Regions from separate parts of the Homo sapiens genome. Here regions 2, 3, 4, 5, 6 and 7 are each linked to region 1. Evidence: promoter capture Hi-C in human tissues and cell types (Jung and others, 2019). All regions are on one chromosome and are shown on one strand. Each heading gives the region's core, a stretch centred on a gene start or on the middle of the fragment in contact. The rest is flanking DNA. Distances are from core to core; before and after follow the strand shown. Region 1 holds the start of TRIM13 (tripartite motif containing 13). Region 2 has its middle 100 kb from the start of DLEU7-AS1. Region 3 has its middle 16 kb from the start of DLEU1-AS1. Region 4 has its middle 110 kb from the start of DLEU1-AS1. Region 5 has its middle 51 kb from the start of DLEU1-AS1. Region 6 has its middle 130 kb from the start of DLEU7-AS1. Region 7 has its middle 69 kb from the start of DLEU1-AS1.

Region 1 (3,898 bases), core at 95-2,594:
AGACGGATGTGGCCAGGGGCTTTTTACGGGGGTTGGGCTAAGCATTATTAGTCAACGGGCTGTACTGCTATTTATGGTAGGTTTTGAATACCGTTTCTCCAAAATAACCTATTTCCTCCCCAAACCCAAACTTCCTCAACTGGGATCGAACTCAATCCTACAGCGTGTTCTGAGATTCTATACTCGCCTCACTTCTCCCAAGATCGTAAATTCTGGAGGAGCCATTCCTTCATCATCCATGTTTGCATCCTTCACACCGTTCACTGGTTAAGTGCTTAGTACGTTTGCTATTGGGCAAGGTCCTCAAACGGGAGGTGGACGTCAGAATAGTCAGGTTATCGACTGAGTAACTGTTAGTGGTGGATAATTTAAAGCCAATTTGAAAGTTCATCCTTTCCCCCAAAGGCAAAAACAGGCGTTCCTTTTCTTAAAAGAGAATTTTAAATAGAATTGGGTCTCTGGTGTCCTGCCTAAAGCCCGCAAAGAAAGAGGGTACGGTTGGGGGTGGGGGTGATGGGGGATACTGAACCCTTTTCTGGTTGCGCCTTGCCCGGAGCCCCCGGCTAGAGCCCTGGCGCTCCTGGCGCGCTCCCAACGCGAATCGGTGACTCCGCAGGCCGCGCAGTGCGGAGGTGCCCGTCCCACCCTCCCCCTTGTGGGGTGCGGGGCTCCATTTCCCCAAGCCGCTGGGGTCGGCTTCTGGTCTTGAGATGCGGATGAAGTGGTGTGAAGGGTTGGGCTTTTTTTTTTGTTCCTAAAAATGCAACGAACAAAAAAAAAAGTACAACAATCCAAACCCAACCATCTTAATTGCACGGCAGCTTAACTGGGAGACTTTCTTCCCGGGCGGCCCCACCCGGGACCGCGCCGCTTCAGTCGAGCCCACCGTCTGGGCAAACGGCGTCCACTTCCCGGAGCCGCTGCCCAGCCTCTGCGGGGGGGCTTTGGGCGGGCGCAGGACTCTGGAAGGGAGAAAAGCCCGCAGCCCGGCCCTCCCCGTCCCAGGCGGCCCGCGCGGGTGGACGGCGGGAGCAGGCGGCGGTTGGAGACGCCGGAAGGAACGCGGTCTCACCACCCGGCTCCCTCCGCCAAGGCGAGGCGCGGCCGGGGAGGCGGGACACAGGCGAAGCGGGACGGGGAGGCGGGGCCGGAGGTGCAGGCGGAGGCGGGCGACGGGGAAGGGAGGGGGAGGGGGAGGGGAAAGGGAGGGGGAGGGGGAGGGGAAAGGGAGGGGGAGGGGGGAAGGGACGGGAGGGGAGGGGGAAGGGACGGGAGGGGAGGGGGAAGGGACGGGAGGGGAAGGGGAAGCGGGAGAGGGAAGGGGGCGGAGCTAGCCGGAGCCGCGAGTCCATTTTGGGGCTGTGCTTGGCGCGTACCGTGCGGTCCCTGTAGTTGGAGGACGGGCGGTCGCGCGGCCTTTCCCACTAGCCGGAGGTCGGAGATAAGTACCCGCCGCCCGGCTCCTCTCGGGAAAGCGGGGTGGTCCTCGAACCTTCAGCGAGGGTGGGGAGTTGCCCAGGTCAGCAGGGATCTGCGTGGGTTGGGGGGGCTGGCGAAGGCCGTCTGAGCTCCAGTCCGGCAGCGCGGCAGAAACCAGCGGGGCACTGTCATGGGCCTGGGGAGGAGCGGCCTGCGGAGGGCGCCGGGGCAGTGTGTCTGTGGTCCAGAAAACCTGCTCCGTCCGGAGCCTTCCTGGCCCCGCTACCAGCGTCTCCACATCCCCTAGAAAAGAAAAGACGGGTGTGGGCCTTAGGTTACAGCGCGCCGCCAGCGTTTGGTTGCATGGCGCCGGGGGAGGGCGCCCTAACCGAGAAGCTGCTTAATACAAAGAGCTCCAGGCTCCTGGCGGTTCACCAGGTCTAAACAGCCGGGCTTTATTTGTGGGGGCGATTGAAAAAATTGAGGGTCAAGATTGGGGTGCTGTGCAAATAAATGCGTTAATACTGTTCTTTTTCTTCTTTCTTTGCAGTAGCCTCTAGTTCGTTAGTCAAAACGTGAAAAAAAAGACCTGCTTTGCCCTGGGAAATAGTAACCCTGCCAAATACATCAGCTTGTAGGAGACAGAGGTAAACTACAATAATTTTCCTGTGTTATCTTTTTTTTTTAAACACCCAATTTCAATAGGCCCTAGAACCTTCCAAAATGGAACTGTGTGTAGAATACGTATGTTCCCATCCACTTTCATTGGTGGTCTTTGTTCTTTGCATATTTTGTTAAAACTTAGAAAAACAGAATTCACGTTTAGCAATTATTTATGTGGTATTTATCTTAAATATAGCCAAACATTCATATTACAAAGGAAGAAAGGGGCTTCCACACTTTTTTCCTACTTTTTTTTCCCTTCTCCTATGCTTAGTGAATTGTCAGGCTGCTAGGGCTTGTAGAACAGGGCTTGAGTTTTCTAGAGACCTTTATATAATAGGCACTTTAAAAGCAGAATTTCATTTACATAGGCACTCCTTCTAGTAGAACTTGATGGAGCTGTTAACCGGCTATACTTCCTTCTTGCACAATGGGAGCGTCCCTATCCCTCCCTAAAAATACGTTTTTTTTCCTTTCTCCCAGCTGGCTTACTAAACCTCCCTGGGAAGTCCTTTCCTAAAACCGGGCTGTTCTGTTCATTCTATACATTTATGATAGGTTATCTGGCCTTAATTCTGTCACAGCTTTTGTTCAGATATGCTCATTTTCATGACACTGCTTTGTACCTGATACCTTATGTAATATTTGTTTTGCCTTGCCTTGAAATCACAGTTCAAGTTTAGAACCTTTTCTTGCTTGATACACTGATGCTCCAAAATAACACCTTAAATGTGTAGAGTTTGCCATATGTAATTAAACCTTATTTATGTTTGTATAGTTTCGTAGTTTATGGAATTCTCACACATCACACAGGAGTTGAGAAATTACTTTTAGGCAGCTAGAAAGGGTAAAAGAGTTCTCGGTGGAATTTTCCTTTAATAAAAAGCAGCTCCTGGCCGGTGACTTTGGGAGGCTGAGGTGGGTGGATCACTTGAGGTCAGGAGTTCAAGACCAGCCTGACCAATATGGTGAAATCCCATCTTTACTAACAATACAAAAATTAGCTGGGCGTGGGGGTGCGTGCACCTGTAATCCCAGCTACTCGGGAGGCTGAGGCAGAAGAACCACTTGAACCGGGACGCAGAGGTTGCAGTGAGCCAAGATCGCGCCACTGCACTCCAGACTGGGCAACAGAGCGAGACTCTACCAAAAAAAAAAAAAAAGCCCCCAAACCATTTATTTTCTAACAGAAAGCCTGAAAAGTCAAGCTGCAAGCAAAAATATGCAGGCTAGAAGCTTTTATATGTAAATGTAGCCTGCTGTATCTGGAAGCCAGGTACATTCAATATGGGGTTTCTCACTCCCTTTTCCTTGTCACCCTATGTGGGCGTCTGGGCCGCTCCCTTTTCCTTGTCACCCTATGTGGGCGTCTTGGCGATCACTAGGTAAAACCACGGGTGCAGGTGTCATGGCGGCCCCAGGTAGAAGCTACATTTGCATAACAAAAAATTAGGGTGGGAGGGCCAGTCTTTAGACGGGCTATGTAAATGATTCACCTGGTCAAACCAGTCCCCTGGGCCCTATGTAAATCACCACCTCCTCAAGCCTCTGTACAAAATCGATTGCGTTTCACCCCAAACCCGGAGACCCTCTCTTGGGTGATATTTCTCAGCGTGAGGAACCTTTCCCTATTAAATTTTCCGCTCCTAAACCCACTCCTTGTGTGTGTCCATGTCCTGAATTCTTTCTTGGCTCGAGACAACCACGGGTGTATCCCCCAGGCAATGGAGCCATTTCATTATGAGGTAAATACTATAAAAATCATTTTTAAATTTTTTTCCAAGAGATGGGATTCTCAACTGTGTTCCCCAGGCTG
Region 2 (4,249 bases), core at 6-2,505, 710 kb after region 1:
CTTGGACATTTCAGCAAAGAAGGTATGTGGAAGGCAAATGAACAAATGAAAAGACACTCAACAGTATTCGTCATTAAGGATATGCAAATTAAAAACAGTGAAATACTGCCATACCTCTTTTTAACAATAGAAACTTTAAAACGGCAAGGTCAAGAGCTGATAAGGATGCAGAGTAATTGGAACTCTCAGGTATTGCTGGTGGTAATGCTAAGTGCCACTTAAGAAGTCAGTCTGACAATTTCTTATAAAGTTGAATGTCACTTATACAACTGAGCATTTGGATATTTACCCAAGAGAAATGAAAACATAAAGCATTGGAGTATCTACCCGAGAGATATAAAACATCTTCATGTTGCGAGGCATTATTCACAACCTCCAAAAAATTACGAACAACCCAAATAACCACCGCCCAGTAAATAAATGAACAGACTCTGTTACATTGATACAATGGAATATGACAGCAATTAAAGAGAATAACTTGTGCTATATGTAACAACACGGATGAACTCAAATGCATAATGCTAAGTGAAAAAAAGCCAGACTTAAAAGACCACCTGCTCTGTCCTTTCATATGAATCACATGCCACAAAAGGCAAACTATAGGGACAGTAATTGCCAGGGGCTGAGAATGGAGAGAGAGGACTGATCACAAAGGTGCAGAGAGAATGCTCTAGGTCTTGATTGTGGTGGTGCTTACACAACTGTATGTGTTTTTCAAGATCCATCAAACTGCACACTTAAAAAGGGTAAATTTTACTGTATATAAATTATACCTTGAAAAACCTGACTTTAAAAAAAGGGAAGCCAGGGAAGCAAAAGACAGAGCCAGATACATCATACATCACTAACTAGGTGTGTAGCTGAAGCTTCTGTTCCAGCCGCTAAGCATGTGCTGAGCCACGTGCCACCTTTTCTTAGTCTTTTCAGTCAACAGCTATTGTTAGAAAAGACATCTTGAACCAAAAGCTTAGACATTTTAGTACTCTTTTACCCAGATTCCTTTTCTAGAAATGTGTCCTACAGAATGAACCTTAAATTACTTAAGCGCTGATGATGCCTCTTGTGCAGCTCTCTACAGCAATAGATGTAAGAAGTGCTCACTTTCTGAGCTTTGAGGTCATGTGTCTAACTTCTTCTGTTTCCCTTTAGAAAGAATGTGTGCTTGAGTCAGGTTGGTCTGCCACACCTGAGCATTCCATACTCTCTTTAGTCAAATCTCTGGGTTGATAAAATTGATTACTGAGGAGATGATAATAAGATGCTTAACTCCAGATTCTACAGACTGCCTTGGTCTATATCATAGACTATATCTCAGGCCATACCTGCAGGAGGCCCATGGCAGCTTAGAGGGCTGCCTTGTAGAAACTTTGGTCAAATCAAGTCACATCCTAAAGAGAAGAAAGTGGCTAACTTTTAGAAATTGCTGAAACAGATCCTTCTATTGAATAGAAGCCACCCTGAATGGTTGCTCACTCACCATACAGCCTGGAAGAAACCAGGGTCTCTCCTAGGTTCCTATGGAGAGAGGTCAGAGTGTCTAGTCTAACTCTCAAACTCACTTAAACCACCAAAGAATTCACCCTCAGTTAAGATTTGGCTTTATGGCAGCTGATTGGTGATAGTACTAGGGGCAGGGGAGGTAATTGCCTCACTTCCCAAACTTTCAGTCCTATTGGAAGGTGACACAGCTGTAGTTTTACCCATCTTGAAAATGAGAAGGTGATTGGTCCAACCCCCTCTTACATAGATGAGGAAATGAGCACTTGAGATCTAACTATAAAGCCAGTTAGTAGCAAGTGGTGCCACTGATTAAGCCTCCTGATATTCGGTTATGTGTCTGATCAGCTAGCTTCAGACTAAACTGAGTCTTTTGCTTAATAATTTGCCTAAGAAACGCAGATACAACACACACACACACACAAACACACACACACGACAGAGAAAAATACAACTACCATGCATCATGTACACATCCAATACTAAGGAATCCAAATCAATTCTTCTTCTTTTTTTATTATTTATTTATTTATTTTATTGTTATTATTTTTTGAGACGGAGTTTCACTCTTGTTGCCCAGGCTGGAGTGCAATGGCACAATCTCGGCTCACTGCAATCACAGCCTCCCGGGCTCAGCGATTCTCCTGTCTCAGCCTCCCGAGTATCTGGGATTATAGGTGCCCGCCACTACGCCTGGCTAATTTTTGGTATTTTTAGTAGAGATGGGGCTTCACCATGTTGGCCAGGCTGGTCTTGAACTCCTGACTTCAGGTAATCCGCCCGCCTTGGCCTCCCAAAGTGCTGGGATTACAGGCATGAGCCACCATGCCCGGCCCAATCCTTCTTCTATTGGGGTTGTTATTAAAAGAGAATAGCAGAACAGAAAGAAGTCTTAAGAGTCCAGGCTCTGGAGTGGGCTATTGGGATGCAAAATAATCTAAAGTATTCTGTGCCTCAGTTTCCTTATTTGTACAAAATGGATGATGATAATACCTCTACCATAAGGTTGTTATAAATATTTAACTGGTTGCTATATGTAAAATGCTTAGAATAAAGCCTGACACATCAGTGGAAATTCACTATTACTCTCTCCATTGGACTGAAGCTGGCAGCTTTACAATTACAGCTGTTCACATACCATAGTCCCCATTCCTGGTACAGCTACCTTCTTTGTGGCTCTTCTCTTTAGATCAAAGTAGCACCAGATAGTGCAGCAAAAGATCATGTTCATGTTAGAGAAAACTGGTTCTTTACCTCGAATAGCTTCCCATATGTTCTGTGCAAGGTTGGTGCTATAATTTTTTTAAGTACCTGCAAATTTCATTCAGAATAACCATATTTAACTTTTCTCATATAAATGTGGTGGTTGTTCTGGTATGAGATTCAGCTCCCTGTCTGTTTGGGTCCTTGGGCTTGGTTCACAGCTTCTCAACAGCTGTCTTCAAACACGCAAGAATCTACCCTGCCTAGGCCGACTCTCCCAGACGTGGCCCTAGGGTGTTTGGAGCCATGCTACCTCAGGGTATTTTCTTTTTCTTTCTTTCTTTCTTTCTTTCTTTTCTTTCTTTCTTTCTCTCTTTCTTTCTTTCTCTTTCTTTCTTCCTTCCTTTCTTCCTTCCTTCCTTTTTTTTTTTTTGACATAGGGTCTCACTCTGTTATCCACGCTGGGGTGCAATGGCATGATCATGGCTCACTGCAGCTTCGATGTCCTGGGCTCAAGCAATCCTCCCACCTGAGCGTCCTGAGTAGCTGAGACTACAGACATGCATCACCATGCCCGGTTAATTTTTTTTTTTTTTTAATTTTTGCAGAGATAAGGTCTCGCTGTGTTGCCTAGGCTGGTCTCAAACTCCTAGGCTTAAGCGATCCTCCCACCTCGGCTTCCCAAAGTGCTGGGATTACAGGCCTGAGCCACCTCACCCGGTTGTATTTTCCTTCAATCAATGACATTCAGCTTCCTGCTGTCCCCTCCAAGAGTGTGAAGGGCTGGCATCAGGTTGTTGCTGGAAATATCAAGGCAATCAGAAGGCTGGATCATTCCTGTAGCAGTATTGGCTGAGTGTCCAATGGGCTGGAGCCATTGGAGAAGCCAGTTCTGACCATTACCCAGGGTTTACATCTGACTCCATGGGCTTCACTAAAGTTGTTGGCCTGGTTTGGATAGTAAGCACTTGAGTTTATGACTTCTAGATAATTTTTCACTATAGCAGCCAGAGCTCAGGGTGAGCAAAAGGGAAAACTGTGATATATTTATGGTTTCTCTCTGGCAGTGCCTTAGGGTGGTGCATTCTGGAAGGTGCTGGAAGTTGGGCCAGTAGGAGCTGAGGGGATGTGAATAAGGCACTGATAGCATCTGCCACAGTCCCTGATGGGTCCGTTCTCATCCACTTACATCCCACTTAAGTTTAGTCTGTCTTGTCATTGATTCTTAATGGGGGTGACTGTCAATACTTTTTTAAAGGAAAATAGGCTGGGTGCAGTGGCTCATGCTTGTAATCCCAGCACTTTGGGAGGCCAAGGCGGGCGGATTGCCTGAGGTCAGGAGTTCACGATCAGCCTGGCTAACATGGTGAAACCCCATCTCTATTAAAAATACAAAAATTAGCCGGGCACGGTGGTGCACGCCTGTAGTCCCAGCTACTTCGGAGACTAAGGCAGGAGAATCACTTGAACCCAGGAGGCAGAAGTTGCAGTGAGCCAAGATCGTGCCAGAGCAAGACTCCATCTCAAAAAAAAAAAAAAAAAGGAAAAT
Region 3 (4,269 bases), core at 336-2,835, 550 kb after region 1:
CTTCTGTGACCCTCTATCACAGTGTCTGCCTAACAACCTAGCAGGAGAATACTACAACCAATATTAATGTAATTGAAAAATAACAATGATGGCCAGGTACGGTGGCTCATGCCTGTAATCACAGCACTTTGGGAGGCCAAGGTGGGTGGATCACAAGGTCAGGAGTTCGAGACCAGCATGGCCAAGATGGTGAAACCCCGTCTTCACTAAAATTACAAAAATTAGCTGGGTGTGGTGGTGGGCGCCTGTAATCCCAGCTACTTGAGAGGCTGAGGCAGGAGAATCGCTTGAACCCGTGAGGCGGAGGTTGCAGTGAACCAAGATCGTGCCACTCCGCTCTAGCCTGGGCGACAGAGGAAAACTCTGTCTTAAAAAAAAAAAAAAGAAAGAAAAAGAAAATTAACAATCATAATGATGACTGACCTTTATTGGATGCTTACTGCATGCCAAGCACTGTTCCAAGAGACTTCTGTCTTTTGTCATTTATGCCTCCACAACAGCCCTATAGGCAGGGGCTATTGTTTTCCCATGTTACAGATGCAGGAACTGAGGCACAAGAGGGTAAGCAAATTGGCCAGGATCTCTCACAGCAGATAAGTGGCAGAGCTGAGGAAGAACTTTTAGGAAAGGAAAATTATATTTTGAAAAATCCCTTTTAAAATATATACCATAATTGAGAAGAAGTAAACTTTCTTTTTGACCGATCTCTGGAGGCTTGTTTGAACTCACTTTTAAGAAATAAAACCTCTGCCTGTCAGATGAATATCTTTATTGCAAAGGAAATTTGTATCATACAGCTCCTCCTAAGCAAGGAAAAACATAAAACAGAGATCTATGTTGGGTTGTGATATCTCTTTCTAGGTGAAGGTTAGGGGCAGAACCATAGGTCTAAGACTTGGAGCTGCAAATAGCAACAGGTCCTGCACATGGTACCTGCATTTGTAAGTGGAGGACAAAAACCACATCTTATCACTCCTCTTTCCTCAGTAGAATGTAGAGCAATAACTGGCATGTAGAAGGAGCTCAATAAAGATATCCAAACATATCTTTCTAGGAGATATGTTTTAATAAAAAAGGTCTGTTCTCTAATTACTTAAGGGGAAAAGACCCTCACTAATCCTTTGAGTAGAGACACACACTCATAGCACCCACCACCAAAGCCTTCTTTCCCGTATGAAAGACAGCGATGCATGTGAGAATGGCTTCAGATTCCCTTCCTTTTTGACACTGAAACCTGACATTCTTTTGGATTAAGAACCTAACTAGCTCTACCCAACTAGCTCATAGATTCCTTGGCTGGAAAGCTGCCTTGGAGAGTTAAGAAAAATGAGGTTTCCAGAAAATTGAGGTGAAGGGGCACAAGCCTTTCAAAGCTGTCATATTAAAATCAGCACGTTGACCATCATTTTCTGGAGACTTGGAGTGTAGACGAGAAGGCAGCCAGGGACATGGTGAAATGTGATTTTATCTCGGTGGTCAGTCTGAGTCTTTGTGGATCTCCTCACTCACATGTCTTTCCTCACTGATACCCAGCCCTTATTTACCAAGTCCCTTTGGCAAACAAGGGACCCATTTCCTCTTGAACTCTTGTCAAAATCGTTTTTAATTATTATAGATTTATGGCTCAAAAAATCGGAGAAATTCTAAATTAGTGGCTTAAAACATCAGCTGAATCTATCATATTCCATTTTTATGATTACAACTACTATCAATAATAGCTATCATTTTCTAAGGGCCTACCTTGTTCCATGTATTCTACTAAGTGCATTATATACATTAACTCATTAATCGAATGGAAACTAACATTTCTCTGGAGGAATACATTTAGGCTCAGAGAGGTTAAGTAACTTACCTAAGGTTCCACGATGAGTTGGTGTTCTGAGAATAAATGTGCACTAAAGGACTACAGCAAACATTTTACTATTTTAGGCTTATGGAAATGAGGCAAACTCAATTTGTGAGACACACATTTTAATAAACTGTGTTTAAAGCTAGAGTTTACCACCTTCTCACACACTGAGTAACTTGAACTATGTATGCAAAGAACAGCTGCCTTGCGGGGGGGGGGTCTTGGAAGACCTACAGATGAGCCTTATTTATAATTAGAGTGCCACTCTTTAAGCATTATTTATAATTAACATGTCAGTGATTTATAATTGAAGAAATCCTCCTATTTTTAAAAGACTAATAAACTGTTTTAAACTATTTAAATTATAATTCTTTTTATCCTTGATTTGATTACCAAACTTCAGGCCAGTTCTGTAACTGACTCTGAATTAATGGAAGTGAAAACTAATGCAGTTTAATGTAGAGGATTTGTAGCCATCCTTGTGTGGCTTTCTTATTTAAAATACATCTCTTCTTGACTGGCACTGGCTGTTTGGATATCTGTAAGATTCACCCTTTGCAAGAATAGAATCAAAGCCTCTAAGGAATTGGATTTAATTCTGAGAACGTGGAATTTTCCTTTGAAGTGACCCTTTAAAAATATTAGCAAGTTCCTGCCTTAATATCCAACTTGTATGCCTCACTGAGTTTTCATGAGATTCGCAGCCATCACTAGTTCTTTGTCTGGAAGCTGAAATGAAAAGCTAAGAGTTGTAGTGGGCTGAGAGAACACTGCTCCGGCGTCGTGCCCCGCTGCCTGTTTTCGTCCAAATGACTCAGATACAGTACTACAGCTGTTTCAGCATTCTTGGGTTTTGTTTGCCAGCTCTATTGGAGACTAAAGCTTATATAAGTAATATGAAACCTTAGCATTTACAACATAAAGCCACCACAAGAACTCACAGACATTAAGCATTGGTAGGATTTTATTTGGAGGAATTTTATTTTAAAATGTAATATCCTTTTCCTTTCTTTGGCAAAATAGAATCAGGAGAACTTGGATGGAACTCTACTGCTTATGAAAAGTCTCACCCTGTTCTTATAAGCAAGTCTGTCACCCTTGATTGGAAAGTAATAATTCATAAAACTTGATGTTATTATCGTTCCTCTGCCTGGAGTGATAGATATTCTTGAGGCTTTGTAAATAAAAAGTTTAAAATTGAATTTGCAACTCAAAAGACTGGTAAGTTCAAATGTTAGTTTCCTGCTGAGTAACTGCGAAAACAATTCCAAAGTAGCCAGTAGTGTGTTAGGAATGGCAGGTTTATTAAATGACTTGATGAAGTGCAATGAAAACACACTTTTGGTGTCTTTTTGCAGCCTTTCCCGCTACAAAAATAATAGTTTTCTTATAGACATTAGTGTTTGCCTTCACTCTACTTCTTTGGTTATTCTCCCAGTTCAGGTTTTATGCAAAGTTGTTCAATAACAAGGCGAGAGTTGGTTTTATTCCTAGCAGACCAATAGGGTTCTCATGTATGAACTGATTGTCTGACACTGCTTGGAGATTATTGGTTTGCATTTCACCATGTAATTTGTAGTAAAAAGTGTTAAACTATGATGAAAAATCCCTTTGGTGTAAAATAGTGCCACTGAGTATTGCGTTCTCATGGCAATATGCCTTCCAATGTCACATATCTTCACTGAAGTCCTTGAAGGAACTGGGTCTTGCTGGAGGGAAGAGAATGACCGAGATGTGGGAAGGTTGCTCTAGCCCAATAGAAAACCAGCAAGTTCATTTAAAAAGGTATCTTTCAATTATGAAAACTGGCAGGCATCAAAGGACACTTGGCAGTTGAACTTTGCAAAAACATTTGCACTGGCGGCTGAAGAGGACCTTCTCTATTGCTGGTTTCATAAAAAAATGAAACATTTTACAGTTTCACCTCAATTTCCTCTCTCCTTTTTCCACAGAAACAAAAGGTGATTTTTCAAGGTCCCTATATCAGCATTATTTGACATCCTCCTATGGGCTTGACCAAATAACTGACCCAATCACTCATGAAGAAAATCAAAAATACTTTGATTTTCACTCCTCACCCTCAATTCCTGTTAAGTTAATGGCAAATTGTTTCTTTTTCCCATTTCTTTATTCCTCCCACCCCATGGGCAAAACACTGCTGCTATAAAAATAAAAACAGTGAAATTCCAGTCTTGACTAAATTTGGGAATTCTTGCACACATGAAAAAAATCTTTGTTTCTCTTTGTGGAAATTGGCAAAGTGAAAATGGACAGCTTAGCTCTTCTCACACTGGCACTTAGATTTACTGCAGAAGTTGAATTTTTAAAAGATTGTAAATATAATTATAGGGGAAAAAGTGTGGTTTATGTTTATCTCCACACCAAATTCCCTGTATGGAGATCTTTATAACAAATCTGCA
Region 4 (4,127 bases), core at 255-2,754, 640 kb after region 1:
AAGCTGGAGTGCAGTGGCAAGAACATACCAGTTACTGAATTTTAAAATCACTTGAAATAGTTCTTTTATTTTGAGTCAAGTTGGCAACCAAGGTAGGCTTGACCACAAAGAAAAGAATTATTCCAAGTGACAACATTTAGATTTAAGCTCAGAGGCTCCATTTTATTTTCTATGCTTTGGGATTGCTTTTTATAAATTTTTTATTTTGCTTTATAGAATTATGAGAAATTAATGGATAAAAATCTTTACATGTAGAAATGCTAAGTTACTCCTGTGATATCTAAAAGTCTGATAATGCCCAAAAGGATGATTACATGCTGGAAAATTCTTCCTATTTTGAGAACACATGTTGAACATGTGATAGATGCAAAGATCCAATTGATTATTTCTCTTTGTGTATATGATGTTGCCCTGATTGCCCTCAAACTGTTTTACATTAGAGAGGTTTGCTTTCTATAACAGACATACCAGATCCCTTGAAGGGGTAGGGTATCATTGATGTTGTGCCATCAAAAGACATATGCCTAATGGGGAAGAGAGTGAATGAGGGCACACAGTGGTGAGAACCTGTCATGTGTGCTAGATATCATTAAAGTCTCACAATTGAATATTTTAAAAAAAGTAAATACTGCATTCTGCTCCATAATAATATGCATATTATATAAAGATAAAAAATTGCTTTTTAAATAACTTGCCATCACAAAAATGGGCACAACAGGAAGCTGCATCATGTTTGAGGTGCAGCTTTCAGTCCTTTATGACATAGCACTTAATATCCCTCAGTTAGGAGACATACGCAGTGGGCTATCAGGACTGCTTCATCACATAGTGCTCTAACATATTTCTGGAATAACTTGAAAGCATTTCTGAATAATTTAAATTATCTTTCATTTTCAAATTGATTCAGAAGATCTCCTTTTTCCTGTCATTTGGAAACATCTTGAATTTGGAATCTTGCGTCGAGTTTGATAGGGGCTGGGTGGGAGAAGGGCAGACAAGAAGAAGAAAGTGTATCTTTCCTGCCCTCAACTTTCCTGGAAGCTTTTCTTGGTCTGTTTATTGCTGTCTTGGAGTTCAGGCAGCCCTGACCTTATGAACATAGTTAGAACCTGTAGCGTCAGTCATCCATGGTGTCATTTGTGGCAGAAAAAAATATAGGATGACTTGCCTTTACAATTTATTAATAATGGCTGCTAGCTTTGTGCTTACTTTTTAAAATGTTCTCTACCTCCCTTGTCCTCAAATCACACCTTCTTTTCCTGATCCTATATTCTTTTATCTAAAATTATTTTTTCTCTTGAAATTAGAACTTATTTTTTTAATACCTTCCTTCTTAACCTATGTGATTTCTTTTCTTTCCAAACCACCTATTAGCTGGGTGGAGGAGCTTCTTGAGGTCAGATTCTATTTCACAGGTAAACACATATCTAAGCTCTGTTAGCTCAGTTCGAGTGGAATCTCAACCTTTGAAGCTGAAAGAAACATGGATATCTTCTAGGCCAGTGGTCTCCTGGCTGCATTTCAAACAACAGGTCTCCTCAGAGAAAGCAGAGGCCACCACAGAATGAAAAAAGGCAGTTGAATAGGCTTCTTTTTACCTCTTACAGGGCAGTTCTGGTTTTATCTGCCTTAAATTTGGAGATTCCTTTCCTCCAATACTTAATCTTTTTTTTCTTAAAATAAAATTTCACAATAATAGACAGTTTGAGGGTTACTGATTCTAGACCAGTTATCTAATTTTCAGACAAGAAACGTGAAGCTCAATTTACCAAATTGTCCAGGTCACACAGTCAATTATAGAACGCAGACTTGACCAAGATCTTTTGACTTCCCCACTTACTATGCCTTCTATGACCTCCTATTTCTATAAGACAACAGAAATCAACATCAACAATGAAAAGCTTTTTATTTATTTTAAAAATCTATTGTTCTTTTATCTTGTTGCTTGAAGGGCACAATGAATGTCAGGCAGAATTGAGACAAACAAGAGAAAATTGCCTCAAGATTTTCTGAAATACAACTTGACAAATATTTTTATGTTGTACTAAATTAAAATATTTTCCAATGAAGAGAAAAAATTCTAGGCAAACTTGTCTGGTTGTGGTAAAAAAAAAAAAAGAATACGGATGACTAAATCATCATAATTTGTATTCCAAATGCAGAGAATGGTGAATAGGAAGAATATCAAATAGATAATTCATGTTTTTAAAATTAATGTCCCTATTGAAAGCCAGCCATACAGATTTATGACAGATGACAAATACCTTCCAAAAAAAAGAATGGTCCTAGTGATGTTTTTTTCCATAATAAATAGACTCAAAGTAGAAAAATGGGGAATAACTAATTCTGAAGAAGGTATTTTAATGTCTTTATTTTCTTTTTCAACTTTTACTTTAGATTTAGCAGGTACATGGGTAGCTTTGTTTCCTGGGTATATTGCATGATGCTGAGGTTTGGAGTATGAATCATCTCATCACCCAGGTACTGAGCATAGTACCCAATAGTTGGTTTTTCAGCCCTTGCCTATCTCCCTCCCTTCTCCCTCTAGAAGTCCCCAGTGTCTATTGTTGCTGTCTTGTGGGTACCCAATGTTTAGCTCCCAGCTATAAGTAAGAACACGTGGTATTTGTTTTCTGTTCCTGCATTAATTTTCATAGGATAATGGCCTCCAGCTGCACTCATGTTGTGGCAAAGGGCATGATTTCATTCTTTTTTATTGCTGTGTAACATTCCATGGTGTATATGTACCACATTTTCTGTATCGAATTCACCACTGATGGGCAACTCAGGTGTTGACTCCATGACTTTGCTATTGTGAGTAGTGCTGCAATGACCATTCAAGTGCATGTGTCTTTTTGGTAAAACAATTTGTTTTCTTCTGGATATATATCCTAATGGGATTGCTGCGTCGAATATTAGTTTTGTTTAAGTTATTTGAGAAGTCTCCAAACTGCTTTCTATAGTAGCTGAACTAATCTACAGTCCCACCAACAGTGTGTAACTGTTCCATTTCCTCTGCAGACTTGCAACAACTGTTGTTTTTGAGAAAAGTTTGTTTTTCAAATGATTATTAAGAATCCTTTGTGGAAAAAAATCTGCAAAGTCCAAAGGCCACGTGTGTGTGTGTGTGTGTGTGTGTGTGTGTGTGTGTGTGTGTGTGTGTGTGGTGAGGTGAGGGTGGCAGAGGGTGGTGGTGCTGGGTATGGGTGAATATGGGTATTTGCAGGGGAAAGCTTGGGTGGGCTGGGGTAATAACAGCATTATCTTGCATTCTATAAAATACTCATCTGAAATTCAAATGCCTCCTTTCTCTAAGGAGCTCAGCTTCCTTTATAAGCTAAGCTTTCCCAGGTAGGAAGGAGGAGGCTCTGAGCTGACTAATTACGGATGAACTTGTCCACATCACTGAATTCCATTATGAAAAAAAGTGTTAGGCCAACTTTCCAACAGAACTCCTGGGTAGAAAGTCCCAGATATCAGGCCTGCCAAAATTATAGAAATGTAGATCCCAGGAAATGCAACTCCAGGCAACTGGCTCTGCCCCGGAAACCAAGAAGAGAGTGAGGAGGAACAGAGGAAGTCAACACTGGCTGTTGGTGCAGGAATTTTGAGCCTCCATGCAGATTCCAGAGGATGGTGGTAGAGATGTCAATGGAGATGATTGCCTATAAACCCAAGAACAGCTACCTGCATTTGCTCATCATGGAACTCACCAGGGTTTAATACATTGAGTTATTGAATTATCTGCCTCCAACCTATTGATTTATCTACTATGAGGGCAGAGAGAACACATCTGTCTTATTCCCTGTAGTATCCACAATGCTCAATATACATTTAAGTGTACATGTCCCAACTCACCTGTGTCGGTATTCTGCCCTTCTTCCTGCTACCAGTGGATGAACTGATCCTGCCCCTATCTCTAGATAGCTCAGTTGGCACACTGGATCTCATCGTCCCTGTCCTGTACAAGAACTTTGATCCTGCAATTCTTCCCTTTTTCTTTGCATCATAATTTCTCCCTCTATACTGAATTATTCTTATCAGTATCCAATCCCAGTGTAATATTTCCCATTTTTAAATAAAAAAACCAAAACTCTCTTAGATATTACGTACCCCACACCAACAAC
Region 5 (3,903 bases), core at 609-3,108, 580 kb after region 1:
ATCACTGCCATGCTTGGCCAGGTGCCTGGCACCTGTGAGCATGGAGCCAGCTGCAGCTAGACTCTGCAGGCATCAGAGGGCCGGGCTGGGTGGGCATGTCACTCCCGACTGTGTGAATGAATGTTTGATTTGTCTTAGCTCACCATTGGGTGGAGTCCACTTTGGGCAGAACACTTAGTGGCTGAATAAACAGCTGGAGCATCTTGGAAAGGCTGCACAGGCTGGTGGTTTGACACCGATTTTGGCTGTTTGGAGAGGCGCCACTGAAAGCCAGCCTTGACCACTGGTGCATTATTGAGAGACCTTGCCTTCTTTGCCTCACGCTGTCCTAGTTTCCCTGGAGGTCAACTGAGGACAAAAAAAAAAAAAACAAAAACAAAAACCGTGTAATTTCTGCTGAGTCTGTTCTCCAGGCTGAGGACAGAGGCAGGAGACACCTCTGAAATGCTGGACAAAATAAACTACATGCAGCCAAAATGGAAGAGGCTTCTTGAGAACGTCCCACCTGGGAGGGTGATAGAGATGGACAACCCTGGGCACAGATGAAGGAAATTCTTTCTGTATTCTTGGACACCCTTGTAGCTGGCCTGTTGGAAGAACTGTCACTTTTTATCACCTCAGGGGCTGGGAGAGAGGCTTTGGGAAGTGAAGGCTGATAGCTTACACTGAGGAGTCCCTTCCCTGGCTAGGATCTGACGTGGGATCTCAGAAGGGCATGACTGATATGACCACGAGCCCACAAAATGTAGAACAAAAGGAATCAAAAATGGAGTTTGAATCCTGCTATGTTGATGTTGGAGACACATGGACAGGCAGTGTTCCCAATGGGCAAAACCAGCTCATGATATGGAGGAAGTTAAGGCATCTCTGCTGCAAATTATTCAAACTTAGAGTGTGGCCATCAGAGACTAATTCATAGTATTTTTTTTTTTTTTTAAGATGGAGTCTCACTCTGTCACCCAGGCTGGAGTGAAGAAGTGGCATGATCTCAGCTCACTGCAACCTCTGCCCCACTGGGGTTCAAGTGATTCTCCTGCCTCAGCCTCCTGAGTAGCTGGGATTACAAGCACCTGCCACCATGCCTGGCTAATTTTTGTATTTTTAGTAGAGACAGAGTTTCGCTATGTTGGCCAGGTTGGTCTCGAACTCCTTACCTCAGGTGATCCACCTGCCTCAGCCTCCCAAAGTGCTAGGATTACAGGCATGAGCCACCGTGCCCGGCCTAATTCATAGTATTTTTTCATTAGTCATATGTGTATCAATTATAGAGATCTAACCTATCATATGTGCATAGATTATAAAAATCTAATCTAATTTTTATAATCTATGCACATATGAAAACTTGCAGGAGATCCCAAAATTGACCTTGAAAAATGTCTCTGATACAGTAAATGATTTTTGGCTGAATGTATCAAAATGATTTTCTTTGACTGAACAAGGCATTTGGAGATTCAAGATGGCTGGTGGAGTAATCAAGTGCCATTGGGTTTTCATAAAAGTAACAAGCAAGAGACAAAGAGGATAAGGCCATGTATAATAGGCATATGGGAATGTATTTCTCCTAAAAATGTTCCAAAGGAGAAGCAACTTTGGAACTTGAGACCTGCATCATTGATTTTTAACATAGTCTCTTTTTCTACTCCCTGTTGATCTCTACCCAAACACAATAATCACACTTGAGTAAATTATTTCTCAAACTGTCTTACAGAGAACACTGCAATTACTGTGGAGCTGAAACATTACTGACAGACGTAAGGGACGTGCTGTTGTAAGTCACCTGGAAAGGTGTCTAAACAGTTCAACAGCTTAGTGTGATTAATGAGCAATGTGGGAGCCAACAGTAAGGCAGAAGCTGTGAGTCCCATTACTTTTCCTTAATGCTGGTGAGCAAGAAATGGGGACAAGCTTAGATTTAGGAAGTAGGATTAGGGTCTGGATAATTTATAATTTATCATAATTAATCTTGATAATGGAGCCCCACTAAGAGTTGTATCCTCTTCTTCAACTATGTGCCAACTTAGAGGTATCTTAATTGAGTGAAAATTTGGAAGGGATAAGAGAAAATAGCACAAAAATAAGTGTTGAAGACTTCTGGGGAATAAAAATCCATTATTCAAGAGGACTACAGCTACTTCTTTCTTGTCCTTTCAGATTTCAGCTTAAATGACTATAAATAACCACTCCCCCCCAGCCAGCAGGCCTTTCTTGACCTCTGGAAAATGTTAGTCTCTCCTCTTCTAATTCCGTAGCCCTTGGGACTTTTCTTTGCAATACTCATCACAATTGTAATTCTGCAGTCACTCGTATAATTATTTGTTTGATCTCCCTCTCTCATGAAGACAAGGACCATGTCTGTTGTCTTCTCCTCTACATTTTTAGCTCCTAACACCATGTCTGGCACACAGCACGTATTAAATTTTGTTTTTTATGTCTTATGAGTGTTTGAGGTGTTCAGAGAGATATATTGTTCTGATCAATTTAATGTCTTTTAAAGGCTATAAATTTCTCTAGATGAATTGTTGAAACTAAGGATACGTATTTTTCTGAAGACAATTTTGGATTTCTAGATGATAGTGTCTATTTTATAGCATTGATCAACTCAATTATACCAGATTTATATTTTAGGAAGAGAATTATATCAAAATTAGATTCCTCTTTTCTCGAACCTGTCAACAAGCCTCCATATTTTCTCATAATGAAGATTTATAAAAATACCACTGGGGAAAACCAAAGAATGATGGTCATTGAGTCTGCTTTGTGGGTCATAACTAAAGAGTCTTCACTGTAGTTCAAGGTTCAGGCCATATCCATGTACTGTCTTCCTGTAAGCAACAATGCTGGTACCAGATTTTGCTAATTTAAGGATAAATCTCCAGAATAAACATCAAAGAACCATAAGTCAACAAAGAAGAAAAAGACATAAAACTGACAAACGGAAGAAAAATGTGACTTTCCTCCCTGCTCTCTCCCACAACATTGAAAACAAGGTTGTGAAGGCAAGTTGTTAAAATCAGGTGAGAGCGTGAAATTTGACCTTCCATATGTGGTCTGAGTTTAACTCGATGTTTTCTCAAAAAGCATTTATAAATCCACAGAGCCAATCTTTAGCCATCAGTATCTCTTGCTTTCTAAATGCTCACTTCTGTTATTTGCAACAATTTGCGTTCATTTGAAAAACCAAACTCAAATTTTGTGTAGCCCCGAGATTGTGTTTCTGAAGACTCAGAACATGGTAGATTTGCTTGGCAGATTTGCAATTTAATGAGAGGGAAAGAGCTGTTAACTCTACAGAGGTGGATATGTGCCCATCGCTCCTCCCCACAAGCACAGAAGGCTGCGTTACAGACAGGAGAGAGGGCCAACTTGCCCCCCGACCAGTACCATTCTTAGACCTGAGCAAGGCTGTGCCTGTCTCCCTCAAGGGCTTTCAAGACAATCACTCCTAAATTACAAGTGACCCTATCAATCCATGCCCTCTCTTGTAGGGTCCACCCGATGTAGTGACATCAGGCTCTCTCAGGTCAGTTTTAAGCTGCCGAGGGTGAGGGAAGGATGATCCGTGCGTGAGTGGGACCACTCTTATCACTCTGACCATAGGACCCTCCTAACCTCCCTGTTGGTGTCATGTGTGGAAAGCATCCATACAGCCGGCACTGAAAGAGATCACATTGCAGGAATGCAGGGATTACAGCCTAAAGAATGCAGAAGATATGGCTGGAAGATGTGTTGTTCTACATTTACCCTATAAGGTTCTGAACAGTAAATTTAACATGACCAGAAAACAAATTGTTGTCTACATTTGCATACATACTCTGGGTAAGATTTACATTTGTTGTCATCATCCATGAACCAAGCACAGTAGCAATCTTGGAAAGAGACATTGGAAGCCAGTATTCACATGGA
Region 6 (3,770 bases), core at 1,001-3,500, 680 kb after region 1:
GACACCACCAGCCCCTTGTGTGTGGTCTGCGATATGGTGTCAGACAAGACCTGAAATCAGATTGAGCAGCTTGTTTTCTTACAACATGGAAAAGCTGTCTTTCACACCAGTAGACACCAAGAAACAAAAAGCAAGACTATGATCCTGTCTGAGAAATTTGTAAAAATGTTCAAGCAGGGGTGTTAAAGAAAACCAGAATGGAGTGACAATGTGGGATCTAAACATTTGACCTGTGACACTAACTTTTATTTTTTTCATTCCTATTATTTTGGAGTTGCTCATTTTTGAAATTCCTGTCTCCTTCCTGTTCTGATTTTTGATCCAGCATTAGTCATTTTGACCCATAATAATCTCACACCACATTGCATCAGTATTTTCCTATCTTTATTCTACTTTGGGGATGGGGCAGGAATCCATGTATACCTTATAAAAGAAAAATGATTTTGTAATTATTTCTTTTCACTAAAATGTTCTGGCTAGAACTACCTGATTTGACCTCCATTCTTTTTGATGTCACCTGACTTGAAGACAGCCCCAGGGACAGGCACCAGATAGTAAGGGATGGAGGCATAAATGGCCACTGGAACTCCACAGTACCAGTCAGAGCATCAATTGAGCCAGCATCCCAGGCTCTTTACTCTCGATAAAATTTTAGACGAAATGTTAACTAGTAATGTGACCACATCTATGAATGCCAGTGATCTATTTGGATTGGATAGTAGGACTTGTTTCAAACTGTGCTACAGCATCTTCTACCCATGATTTGAATGTGGTGTTTTTCAAAAAATGTCATTGCAGGAGACATTTAGAGTGCTAATAAAAATGCAGATTCCTGGTCCCTACTCTAAACCTACTCAATATGACCCTCTGCAGATGGGCCCAGGGATATGTATTTTTTTAAAAGCCCTGAAAGTGATTCTTGGGCATACTGAAGTAAAAAACTACTGGTTTAGACTTAAGGTGACTTAAGCAACACTTTTGTAGTTCTGCATAGTCAACATTAGTGATTAGGAAAGGTTCAGATGTCCTGAGAACTGGCATTCATCTACTCATTCATTTTGCAAATCTTTATTGAATACTTTCTGATATTCAGTCTTGAAAGGAGAAGACAAGTGTGTGTCTAGGATAGTGGTTCTCAAACTTGTGTATACGTCAGCATCGTGGGGAGCTTTATAAGAATAAATAGTCTCTCTCTAAAACAAACAAATACAACTCCCTCTCTCTCTCTCTCTCTCTCTCTCTCTCTCTCTCTCACACACACACACACACACACACACACACACACACACACACAGTGCCTTTGCAGGTCTGGGATGAGACCACTACATATTTGAGATGGTGATTCTGATATGCAGTCAGCATTAAGGAAACATTTTATTAGAGAAACTCTCTGTGCACCAAAATACCAAGTGAACAGACTTTTTTAGAGAAAGACTTTCCTATAATTGTGGGAAAAGCATGTGGCACATGACTTCATCTTGAGCAAAATCAATTATAGCTTCCTTGCAGATAATATTGGTCTTACACAAAACTAAGTAGCGAGGGTGTTAGAGAGAAGGTGGGTGAATCATTTCAAGAGGGGCCACCATGAGCCCCAAAGGGCCTATTGAGGCATGTTTGAAAGACAATGGGAATATCTATTTAGTTAGATGGAAGAGATACAAATTGTCATGTTTTGGTTGGTGTAAAAATACTACCATCCTCGTGATTTAATAATATTCATTGTACTTCTGCCACTATATGTAGTACTATCTGTGTTCACAAAATGGAAATAATTGCAACAGATATAATGGTAGCAAATTTTAATCAAACTTCCAAATAGAATTATTGGTTCAGTGAAATATAAGTTTCAAGCTTTTTTTCTAGAAACTTTGGAACACACGGGGAAAAATCACCCAGTCTTACCATTCAGAAATGATTATAATTAGCATTTTCATAGATAACCATTTTTTCTCAATTGATGTTATACTGTGATCATTTTCATTTTATTAAACATGATGCCTGAAAATTACTTTCAAATGATTCAGCAGAGAAAGATAGAAAGAATGAGATAAAGCAGATTTGTAAGATTTTAACAATTAATAAGACTAGGTGAAAAGGGTACATTATATTATTTCAGCTTCTTGGTAGGTTTGAAATTTTCAAAATAAAAAGTTTTTTTAAAAATTTGAAATTTTCAAAAAAATAGGAGAAATCTATTCAGTGCAAGAAGTAGACAAGCAACAGGGTGGATTACTCTAAACATCATGTGGTTAAAGTCTGGAACTAAAGATAGTTTTTAAATACTTAGAAAACTAGCAAATCAAAAAATTATAATCTATTATGATTTAGTGGGGAAATTTAGCTGTAGGGATTATGATTCTACATTTTTTATCAGTATTCATGCAATAGCCCCAGTGGGCCTTCTTATTTTTATCTGTCATCTTACTGACATTGTCAATGAACTGAGAGTCATGGTTTCAAATGTACACCATTAAATAATGGTGCCTGGCTGTGATCAAAACAACAAAGGCCAAAAGACTTTTAAATAAAAGAGTCATCTGGTTGCAAACTAAATAAAGCCAGTGGGGAGCATGCAGACACACACTCTCTCTCTCTCTCCAGAAACATGATTTTTCCCCCAATGGGCACACTTTAATTCTTCTGTGGAATAATATAAAATGTAAATAGATAGCCCATATTATAATTTATTATCCCACTATTAGTCAAGTTGATTGAGTCCAATTTTTAGTTTTATAAATAATACCATGATTTTTTTTCTAATTTCAACATTCCTTAGGACAGACATCTAGAAATGAATACTACATGTGGTATTGAAAGTTGGCTTAGCTCTGCTTTTCCCACTGTCAATGACAAAGAGAAAGGGTGAGTCTATGTCACTAGAAAAGCATGAATGCATCTTTTGGCCAGACTCTGACCCCACACCATGGGGGTAGTTAGTTTGGGTTGAAGTAAGCTGCTATAACAAAGAGACCCTAGGGTATAGTGGCTTAAATAAGTTGGAAACTTTTTTCTTTCTCACTTTACCACTCAGGTGTGAATGGTTCAGAGCTGATGGGGAGGCACTACTGACATCCTCAACAAATGGCTTCCATTTCTGTATCCAAAGTGACAATGCTTGTTCTTGCTGTTTTACAGACACTGGGAAGGGATAAATGATCTGGAGAATGTATGCCCAATTGTTTGAAGGGCAAGACCCACAAGTGGAGTACATCATTGCAGGTCACATCTCATTGGTCAGAATCTAGTCATTGGTTTTATCTAGCTACAGAGCTGATAGAAAATGAAGTAGTTACCTGGACAGCCATGGGCTCAACTAAAACCGGGAGAAGAGATCTGGGAGCACAATGAATGGATCTGCCTCAGCTTCTAGCTGAGTTCTTGGAACCCAGAGGGTGAGCAACTGAGACACTGTGTAATTGCTCTTTTTTCCTATGATTTCTGTCTCCCTCAACGTTGAGCCTCTGAGATGTAAGCATTGGAAACATTACAGTCAGATAGTGAAAAGTTTGCTAATCTGACAAGGAACCAATGTTCATTAAACTCTTCAATGTGCATTTTTATAGGGTGTGGCCAAACCCGAGTTAGATAAGTGCAGATGTCACTAGCTACAGGTTCATTTGAACTCCACAGTTCAATTCCCGCCCCCCACCTCACTTCCCCTCTCCCTCTCTCTTTCTCATCCTCTACATTTCCTTTGTGCTTTTGGAATTCTCCTTTTTGTTACAAATAGGTACACAAGTAAAAAATTCAGGGGTTCAGTGGAAACA
Region 7 (3,824 bases), core at 1,199-3,698, 600 kb after region 1:
CAAATGGTAAAAATCTAAATAGTCTCACTTTCAGTCCATCTCCCTGCTCCCTGGAGCTGCTCTGACCTTACCTTCGATTTCCTGTCTTGAGCCTCCCCTCTCCATTTGAGGGGGTCACTGTTGTTTTTTCCCTCCTGTGAAACTCCTGCTTAGCTTCCAGCCTTTGGAGAAAGTGCTTAATATTTTCAGCAGTGGAGACTTCCTTTGCAGGCTTCAGAAAGACAATTTTCTTCGGGGAAGAAAGAAAGTGAGACCATAGCCAATGCAGCAGCTGACAGCCTCTAGCCAGACAGATGTTAGAGGAGGCAGAAGTGAGGAAAGATACAATATACTTTGGGGAATTTGTTAATCTGAAATTATTAATTATACTCTTGCTAAAGGCATTGTATTAAAAATCGGGCAACAAGAGAAAGAAGTAGAGATGCAGTTTCTACAATTCAGTTCACAATATACTTGAAAAGATCAAATAATGGCACATCAAAAGTAGAAACAGTAAATGGGTTAGCTCGGGGTTTAAATCCTAGTGCTGCTAGTTCATAGCTATATGACCCTGGCAAATTGCTTAACCTCTCTGAGCCTCTATTTTCTCATGAGTAAAGTGGAGATAGTGAGAGTATATACCTCCTAGGATTGCCCTGAGGATTAAATGAGATAAGTATGTAAAGTGCATGTCACTGGACTTGGCCTTCAGCAAGACTTAGTGAATGTGAGTGTTCATTGGTACAAACTCTGTATATGTTACAAGAGTACACAGTAGGACTCCTAGGAGTTCAGAAACGGGCAGGGCCCCCGTGGCTGGGATGATCAGAGAGAAGCTGCCACGAGGGGAGAAAGATTTGGCTTGAGTCAGAGAAAAGTAAAAGAACTTATATATGTGGAGGATTTTAGCTGAGGGGATGGCAAGTGGGTGGTACTGAGGCTCCCACGGCCTCCCCATTTTATGTGAACAAGATGAACTTCACTATTATCATGTTATATATTGGGGGGCCAGGGTCTTCCAAGTAAGACTTGGTGTGAAGAAGCTTTTTGTTCACACACACACACACAAATTGAAAACCAATGACTTGCTTAAAGGCAACTGGTGGATGAGACAAGAGCAGTATCTGAAAAGAAGATTTACATTCCCTAATGTGCATTTGTTCAGGGAGTCATTTGATAAACTTACCGAGGACCTCTTATGTTCTAGGTAAGAGGTGGAGGACACAAAGATCACTGAGATACTGTGGCTCCTGCTCCCGGCTTCTACTCGTGGGACAGTCAGCCACTTAAGTGAACATAAGATGAGCAAAGGGTGCCTGGGGCCATCACACTGAGCAAAGAGCCATCGGGGCCATCACATTTGCCAGGAGCACAAGGGTGGAAACTGAAAGGCTTCACTGATAGAAGTGACATGTGGGCTATGTGGCTGAGTGATGCATGCTGCCTCTTTATGTTTCAGGATATCAAGCAGTGTCTTGTCCCCTCCAAAGATGCACTTGAGGGGCTCCCCTCTGTCAAAGCGATGGGGCAGGCAGTGTGCAGGAGGAAGAAAGGCTAGACTCAGCCACAGGACCCCAAGTGTGAGCAGGGGAGCCACAGCAGTGCCCTCAGCAGAGCCTTGCTGGGAGCCTCCACCTGCAGAGGTAAAGTGCAGCTGGAGCTGAGCCCCTGGGAGGAAGGCAGACCAAGGCTTTTCTGGAAGACTCCTTGGGGCTGCTTTCAAGAGTTGCTCTGGATTAGCCTTTTCTGCCTTCTTTTTGCTTTAACAACTGTACAATCCCTGTGCTAGAAGAGCCCTCTGTGGCCATGGAAGCGCCTAAGTGCAGGATCAAAGGGTTTGCTGGTCAGGTGAAGGGACTCAACAATATGAACAAAATTAGGCGCATTTAGTTCCTTTTTGGGACTCCTAACTTTTCATTTTCATATGGCTGCGGAGGGCATGCCTAGCATATCTGTGGAACCAGGGTGCCTGTGGAGAATGGATGCATAATAAACGTTTGGACCATGGAGTGAAATAAGCCAAATAGGGCATAGCTTCATAATTAAATTCACAGATGAAACCTGATGGAGATAGGATCTGGGAACACCAGCGACAATTGAGAAACTGCCCCAGAGGGATAGAGGGGAAAGGGACTAGCTGTATAGGCAGGAAATAACAACTTGAGGTTTGACCTTGAACAATGGAAGGCTAATTCACCTGGGCTGACATAATTGAAAACACAGATATACAGCACAGAAAAGGCACATGGAAATGTAAACCGTTGATAAGAGCTTGGGGAGAGTAAGTAGCAAATTGGATTGCAGATTAAATCAGGGCAAGGTTGCAAATTACTCAACTCCAGTGAGGGGTCTGCTAGACTTACAGCCCTGCTTGGCTCCACTGTGAGCTGGTGCAGGCAAAGGAAAGGCTGGGACATCATAAGATAGGGACCCAGGGCTTCTTCCTTCACCAATGCACAGAGGAACACAGGCAAGAGCTAATAGCAGGGAGGTCACTGATTGGTGTGGGCCTGTGTCTCTCTTGGCTTAAATAAAGTGGGAAAGAACACTTTGCCTTACATGCAAGATCCTCTGGGATGAGGTGGGGTAGGGAGGCTTCAGAGAGGAGGCTGGGGAGCTGATGTAGGTGATGGGGACATAGGTCAGGAAAGGAATTTGCATTTAGAACGAAACGTGGCACATGGTGGCACTCAATTTGTGTTAACTGCCACCAACCTCAACTCGCCTCAGAGTAAATATTGGGGCCTCTCCAATGGGAGCGTGGGCCCACTAGTGATTCTAGGTTTCTCCAGGTGGTCCTGAGCTGCCATATTGTACGTGTTTTTAATGCTTTCCCAGTGCCTAGTCTTTTGCTTTTGACACGAGTTACTTTTAGAATTTTATGTATTTCATTGTCTCATAAATACAGCTTCATTCTTTTTTTTTTTTTTTTTTTTTGTAATAAGCAAGAGTATAGAGATTAAATAGGGTCTTGGGTCCACTTAAATTGCCCACAGGTCAAAACATTCTGAGAAACAACGCTGCCAGTGATTAAAAAGAGCCAATTTAGAGGCTAATTTAGTAATTTATTAATTAATTTACTAATTTCTTAAATGTATTTAGAGGCTACTTTAGTAGTTATCCTCCCTGTTAGACAGGCACAAAAAGATCCTTGGCCTCTGTCCCTTCTCTTTACCTCTCACGTTGGCTGTTGATCTGGTGGATTCTACTTCCTTCAATACCTTCACAGCTGTCCCCTTCTTACAAGTCCCACTGCCACTGGCTGTCTTCACCCCAGGAGATGCAGTGCCTTCATCCCTGCTCCCCCTCTCTCCGCCTTCCATCTGCCCACCACCATTCTCAATGTGGGCTTTGACTGGGTCATTCCCCTTCTCAGAAACTTTCAATTGCTTTTAAAAAATGTATTCTCAAATCCTGGTCCGCTGTTCCAGGCTCCCATCCCTTGCCCTTCTGCCCCTGCAGCTTCCGAATCATTCCACCTCCTGTACCTTGTGATCATTCCTCTCTACCCACACAGGCTTTCCCCATGGATATCTTTTTTCCATGCTTCCTTTTCCTCCCAGGTCTCTCCATCCCACCCCATCTCTCTCTCTCATCTCCTCACATCTAAAGCCTATTAATCTTTCAAGACTCAGCTCAAGAGCACAAAGCCTTTCTCAGTTCCTCTAGCTTGAGGCTCTCTCTCCTTGCTCTGAGCTGCCATGATATGGGCACCTGTTCCGACCATCTCACAGAGAAAAAATGGGTCAGAGTCACTGTGTTGTGTGTTAAGAGCCCATGCTTTAGAGTTCAGAGCCTGGCTCTGTCACACACTAACCATGTGACCTTGAGCAAGTAAGTTAATC

Evidence for each region. The method cuts DNA at HindIII sites, captures the fragments that hold promoters and counts their contacts. A contact is called where the count stands out against the background at its distance.
Region 2: a fragment that was not itself captured here is called in contact with the fragment with the promoter of TRIM13 in region 1 in 1 of the 25 tissues and cell types used here (spleen).
Region 3: a fragment that was not itself captured here is called in contact with the fragment with the promoter of TRIM13 in region 1 in 2 of the 25 tissues and cell types used here (dorsolateral prefrontal cortex and spleen).
Region 4: a fragment that was not itself captured here is called in contact with the fragment with the promoter of TRIM13 in region 1 in 1 of the 25 tissues and cell types used here (dorsolateral prefrontal cortex).
Region 5: a fragment that was not itself captured here is called in contact with the fragment with the promoter of TRIM13 in region 1 in 1 of the 25 tissues and cell types used here (lymphoblastoid cells).
Region 6: a fragment that was not itself captured here is called in contact with the fragment with the promoter of TRIM13 in region 1 in 1 of the 25 tissues and cell types used here (hippocampus).
Region 7: a contact is called between a fragment that was not itself captured here and the fragment with the promoter of TRIM13 in region 1, in 1 of the 25 tissues and cell types used here (lymphoblastoid cells).

Annotation. Positions count from the first base shown.
Region 1 is chr13:49,995,698-49,999,595 of GRCh38, forward strand. TRIM13 (tripartite motif containing 13) reads left to right here and starts at 1,345. Exons shown (of 2, transcript NM_213590.3): 1 at 1,345-2,066. It overlaps DLEU2 (deleted in lymphocytic leukemia 2), which reads right to left. Exons shown (of 14, transcript NR_152566.1): 11 at 1,377-1,722. MIR3613 (microRNA 3613) reads right to left here and starts at 804; the gene lies at 718-804. RefSeq lists silencers at 312-361, 952-1,081 and an enhancer at 642-771. The HindIII fragment of the contact is 11,924 bases long and covers 1-3,898 here.
Region 2 is chr13:50,703,134-50,707,382 of GRCh38, forward strand. No RefSeq gene overlaps it. Among named protein-coding and RNA genes, the nearest start is that of DLEU7-AS1, 100 kb to the right of the region's middle. The HindIII fragment of the contact is 3,946 bases long and covers 1-3,228 here.
Region 3 is chr13:50,541,291-50,545,559 of GRCh38, forward strand. No RefSeq gene overlaps it. Among named protein-coding and RNA genes, the nearest start is that of DLEU1-AS1, 16 kb to the left of the region's middle. The HindIII fragment of the contact is 6,360 bases long and covers 1-4,269 here.
Region 4 is chr13:50,638,491-50,642,617 of GRCh38, forward strand. No RefSeq gene overlaps it. Among named protein-coding and RNA genes, the nearest start is that of DLEU1-AS1, 110 kb to the left of the region's middle. The HindIII fragment of the contact is 3,566 bases long and covers 1-3,287 here.
Region 5 is chr13:50,576,230-50,580,132 of GRCh38, forward strand. No RefSeq gene overlaps it. Among named protein-coding and RNA genes, the nearest start is that of DLEU1-AS1, 51 kb to the left of the region's middle. The HindIII fragment of the contact is 3,612 bases long and covers 53-3,664 here.
Region 6 is chr13:50,679,251-50,683,020 of GRCh38, forward strand. No RefSeq gene overlaps it. Among named protein-coding and RNA genes, the nearest start is that of DLEU7-AS1, 130 kb to the right of the region's middle. The HindIII fragment of the contact is 3,495 bases long and covers 504-3,770 here.
Region 7 is chr13:50,594,776-50,598,599 of GRCh38, forward strand. No RefSeq gene overlaps it. Among named protein-coding and RNA genes, the nearest start is that of DLEU1-AS1, 69 kb to the left of the region's middle. RefSeq lists an enhancer at 2-201. The HindIII fragment of the contact is 5,382 bases long and covers 1-3,824 here.